Linked DNA regions of Homo sapiens: region 2 is linked to region 1. Evidence: promoter capture Hi-C in 16 types of primary human blood cells and fetal thymus (Javierre and others, 2016). All regions are on one chromosome and are shown on one strand. Each heading gives the region's core, a stretch centred on a gene start or on the middle of the fragment in contact. The rest is flanking DNA. Distances are from core to core; before and after follow the strand shown.

The links. Contacts are between HindIII fragments. The CHiCAGO score rates a contact against its expected background, and 5 or more counts as called.
Region 2: a fragment that was not itself captured here is called in contact with the fragment with the promoter of MEAK7 in region 1 in 1 of 17 cell types (fetal thymus); the score reaches 5.0 in fetal thymus.

Annotation. Positions count from the first base shown.
Region 1 is chr16:84,503,393-84,505,944 of GRCh38, reverse strand. MEAK7 (MTOR associated protein MEAK7) reads left to right here and starts at 1,286. Exons shown (of 8, transcript NM_020947.4): 1 at 1,286-1,344. It overlaps LOC124903736 (a long non-coding RNA gene), which reads right to left and starts at 1,143. Exons shown (of 2, transcript XR_007065149.1): 1 at 1,010-1,143. RefSeq lists enhancers at 826-945, 308-1,255, 1,376-1,876 and a silencer at 1,496-1,545. The HindIII fragment of the contact is 3,004 bases long and covers 1-2,552 here.
Region 2 is chr16:84,084,556-84,087,107 of GRCh38, reverse strand. MBTPS1 (membrane bound transcription factor peptidase, site 1) reads left to right here. Exons shown (of 23, transcript NM_003791.4): 10 at 1,974-2,125. Among named protein-coding and RNA genes, the nearest start is that of MBTPS1, 31 kb to the left of the region's middle. RefSeq lists a silencer at 2,128-2,177. The HindIII fragment of the contact is 380 bases long and covers 1,099-1,478 here.

The DNA of each region.
Region 1 (2,552 bases), core at 37-2,536:
TGGGACATTGGCCTTGGATCTCAGAGCAATGTCTTGGTGAGGGGCCCTACCTTGTGCACTGTCACCAGCCAGGCCTGCTGCCCTCAGGCAGAAAGCCTTCTATTTTTGTTCCAGCTTAAAGAATAAGAGGTGACCAGCCGGGTGCAGTGGCTAACCCCTACAATTCTAGCACTGTGGGAGGCCGAGGCAGGCAGATCACCTGAGGTCAGGAGTTCGAGACCAACTCAAGCGGACGTTGGCGGGCGAAGTCACGGTTTTCCAGGCTGGAAAACCAGCAGGCCGTGCAGGGGAGAGAACTGGTACCATGGACATGCGGGAGCTGAATCTGCAGGAAGGTGGACCCCAGGGAGGATGCGTGGGGTGGAGAGAGTAGGGAGAAGTCGAGAAACTCCAGGGCAGAAGCCAGAAGGGCCCAGGGAAGACCACCAGGGACAGCGAGCGAGCCAGGGCCAGGAATGGGCGCCGGGGTGCCCAAGAGAGAGGTCTGATGAGAGCACGATCACCAAGCGCCAAATGCTGCCTGCGAGGACCCAAAGCGCACCTCGGATGTAGTGAGCAGGCCCCCGGGACCAGGTTTCGGTGGGTTTGAGAAGGAACGAGCTGAAGAAGTGGGGTGACAGGTTCAGACGTCTTGGAGTGAACGGGAACCGGCTGAAGAGGCGCACGTGGGGTGGAGGGAGTCTGTTTAGCCAGGCTGTGGAGCTGGCGCCTGATGGCTGCCGGGAAGGACCTGGTGCCAGGGAAGAGCGAGGCAGGGGCAGCTGGCAGAGGGAGGCCCGAGGGGAGGCGGACCCGAGGCTCTAGGCCAGGACCAGCAGGCCGGGGAGTCAGGGGAGAGTTGCCTGGGGCCCAGGAGGCTGCACTGCAGAGGCCTCTGCATGGGCTCCACATGGGCCACTCTCCTCCCCCGGGTGTCTTCACCCCCAAGCTCAGCCTCTCCCCCAGGATCTCCCACACCCTGGCTACTCCGCTCCAGCGCCCAGCCCAGACACCCCTTCTCCCCAGGTACCACTGCTGGCCTGGCCTGGCCTGAGTCATTGGCCGCCCTCTCCAGGCGCCTCCTTGGTACGCACGCAGCCGGGCCGGATTCCCGGGCCTGCAGCCGCTCCTCCCGCAGACCGCGGCCCCGCCCCGAGCCGCACCCACCGGGTTCGGCTCACTCCCTGTGAGGCGCGTCACCATTGGCTGACTCCTCTCTTGGGTTCCGCCCCACACCTCCGCTTCCACGATTGGACCAAATGACTGCCCCTCAGCAATGTTGCCTGGCAACAGGGAAGGGGCGGCTCTCGAGAGGAGCCCGTGGGCTGCTGGACCGGACCGGACAGCACCAGGAAGCCCGGCAGGGTAGGTACCTGGGCTGAGGTTCGCAGTGAGCTGACCCAGAGGCGCAGGCCCAGCTGAGTCGGGGGACTGGAGCAGACGGGTCCAGAGTAGGCCTGGGCCCTGCCCCTCCCTGGCCTCCCACGCCTCTTCAGGCCCTCGGGTCGGGGGAGGGAGAGGTGAAGGCTGCGGGGAGGTGAGGGGTGGGGACAGCGGGGCGGGATGGAGGGAGGGTCTCCTGGGGGGGATCAGAATCATCCTGCACCTCCCGCTGTTTATGTGGTCAAGGTAAGAGGGTGGCGAGGTGCTTCCCCCAGGGCCAAGGCCAGCCGTGTTGAAGGGGGATTCAGAGCCTGTGTAGACGCGGAAAGGGAGGGGTGCCTCCACGGAGGAGGCGAGTCTGGGGTAGACACTGAAGTGTGTGTGGAGGGGGTTTTCCTTCTTGTATTCTGACCACACCCATCTGGGCTTTTCCAGGACAGTGAGCTGATAACTGTTCCCAGGCCATGTAGGTGGCCAGCACAGGACAGGTCACCTTCTGGCCCACAGGAACTTCTTGCCCAGGCTCAAGCTGCCCCTTCGCACAAGGGCCTCTGGGCTCTGAGACACAGACAGGACTTCGAAGCCTGTCCAGATGAGGCAGTTGGAATCTCCCCAGCTTGTGGGGGTACGGAGGGACCCTTGTGTGGCTCTAGGGATGCGGGGCCCTTGGAGTAGAGAGTTGGAGCTTGGCAGCCAGGGTGGGAAGCAGCCATGTAACAGCCTGTTGGAGAAGCTCTGAGCAGGAGGTGACTAAGCCATTCCTAGGATACTAGTGGGAACCTTGGGGGCCATCCTGCAGACAATCGGTCCCTGTCCACCCCTCCATCACGGAGGCAGAGCAACCTTCCGTTTCTTCCAAGCAGGGCAGTTTCTCTTGTTCTAAGACAAGATCCCAAGGAGCCATTCTCTGTTGTCTTGGGCCCATTATTCTGTCTCTGACCTCCAGTAAGCAGATCAAATGCCCTGGGTTACCTTATTTAATCTTCTCAACCTTATGTTAAAGAAATTAATTAATGATGCTTATTAAAAGCACATTAATTATTGAAGACCATTGCAATGGGTATAGGGACCACAGCAATGGGATTTTGTAGTAAAGGAGAGAGATTGGGCTCAACTCTGATTATAGCATGGGCAAGTGGGAAGCCAGGAAGCAGGGTGGGGATCAGTGGATGGAAGATGACTGAGGAAAC
Region 2 (2,552 bases), core at 39-2,538, 420 kb after region 1:
TTCCCAGTTTAACTTATTAATTGATTTCTGAGGAACTCACCTTTAGGTGAATTGGGTTCCTGCCCGTTTACCCTATCTAGTAGTGGTAAGCAGTCCTCCTCAGTGGTAGGTGAGATGATATTTTTTGGGGGAGGGGAGCCTTAAGAAGTTGGAGAAACCATTGAGAACAGCTTAATATCAACTCTGCTAACACAGAAACAATTGTATTTAGCTGGACAAATTCAAAATAACTGCTACAGTTAATAATTCAGCTGTTTGGGGTTTAATTATGCAGCACATTCACCCACCTTTACCTGTCAAAGTTTGATGAAAAATTAGACGCTCGTGCAGAACAGCAGTTGGGCACCTTTGCCCTCGCTGTGGCCGAGGGGAGCATCTGCCCTTCTCATTCTTCAGGGTCAGAGCATCTCTTGGTGTTTAACGTCACATGCCACACTCGGAGGCCTCAGATAAGTCCCTGGAAAGATTCCCAACTGCCTGGGAACACTGTGGGCCTCGTCCACACTGTAGCCACTTTACAGGATAGCCTTCTGCCTGAGCCTTTGTCCTGTGACAGCGTCAGCCCCCAGCGTCCCCGCCACTCAGCCCCACCAGGGGTCCCCGCCTCCCACACTCACGTGCCTCTTCCTGGAGCTGACCTGTTGGCTGGGGACCATTCTCTCATGTGACAGTCTGTGCAGGGCAGGCTGCGTGTCCTCCCATCCACGCTCCCTCAGCATGTTCCTTGTGCTGCCGGATAATGGGAAACTGCATCCACCACTTTGTCCCCAGCTCCCTGTGTAAATGCTCTCACCGAACTGTGGTGAGATGTCATCCACTTTGTCCCCAGCTCCCCGTGTAAACGCTTTCACCAAACCGTGATGAGATGTCACGTCCATGGCCTTCATCACCAGCCAGCTTTTTAATGGCATTTGAGAAATGTCCTTCCATCATCACAGCTGCAGTGGAGGATGCCTTTACTCGGTATCCCAGTATGTGCATCCATGGTCCTTGGGTTTGATGGTCAGAAAAGGGCTTCCCTTCAAATTGGGCTCCTGTTTTCTGACAGAATATGAGATCCTATTCTAATTTTCGTTTTGCCCCAATTCTTAAGAAGCTTAAGCAAGTACTTATTAAAACGTTATCCCAAGTTAGTCGTGTGGTTATCTTGTTCCTTCTCAGTGGTTTCTTATTTCCTCTTTTACAACCGTTTGAAACATCCACTCATACCGTGTACTTTTTTCCTTGTAAAGAAACATGTTTGGGTTTTTTTACATTTTAATTTTCTAATTTTTCTAACATATTTCTAATTTTAACTTATCTAGAGATAAAGCAGTTTCCAGTTTCTGGTCTTGGTGATAAGCCAGTGTCCACTTTCCAGTCTGGCATGTCAGCAAAATTAAAATACTTATCTTTTAATTGCTTTATGCCTTTGCCATTGTTCTGGTTGTTATAAAATATATTTTTAAAAATTTACTTTCTACATTATCGTTTAAGCTTATTTTCTGTATTGTAGTGAATTTCTTTGTTTTTTTCTCTTTTTTTTTGGGGGGGGGGCGGGTGCGGGGCTGAGGGGGACAGGATCTCACTGTGTTGCCCAGGCTGGAGTGCAGTGGCACAATCACGGCTCCCTGCAGCCTTGACCTCCCGGGCTCAGGTGATCCTCCTGAGTAGCCGGGACTACAGGCTTGTGCCACTACATCTGGCTAATTTTTGTATTTTTTGTGGAGATGGGGGTCTTACTGTGTAGCCCAGGCTAGTCTGGAACTCCTGGGCTCAAGCAGTCCACCTGCCTCGGCCTCCCAGAGTGTTGGGATTACAGGTGTGAGCCTTGCGCCTGGCCTGGAGTGAATTTCAGACTAAAACCAGTACCTTCCTAAGGTTATACAGTTTTTAACTAACCCATATCTCTGTTCTGATTTGATTCACTCATGATTGCATGCGGCTGTATGCCAATGTGCGAGATGTAGCAACCAAGCTGCTTTTATTCATAGGAGCTACCAGGAGGCTACGGTCGCATGAAACCTGACATTGTCACCTATGGTGCTGGCGTGCGGGGTTCTGGCGTGAAAGGGGGGTGCCGGGCCCTCTCAGGGACCAGTGTTGCTTCTCCAGTGGTTGCAGGTGCTGTCACCTTGTTAGTGAGGTGAGTGCTGCCCCCTAGAGACCAGTAGCTCCCACGTCAGGACAGGAGCACTCGGTGCCAGCAGAGCAGGAGTCGTGTCTTGCTTCTGCCCTGTCTTGGGTTTGAGAGCTTAGGCCCTTCACAGCCTTGCTCTGTCTCTCCTTCTTCATCTCTGCAAAGAGGTAGGAGTCACTTCTTTTATAGTTAGATGAAGTGAATGTGAACACACTTTATAAGCCTAAGTAAACAAAGTGCTGATAGGCAAAATAACCTGTTTCTTTATGTTTGTGTTCTGTTTTCTAATATCCCATTTATGTGCTAGAACTGTGATTTTTATATCCAAGCAAGCATAAATATCAGGCAGGGAACAAATAGTAAGATATTTCCCTGCCATATATCCTCCATTTCCTTGGGGATTCACTTTAAAAAAGAAAAACAAAAAACAAAT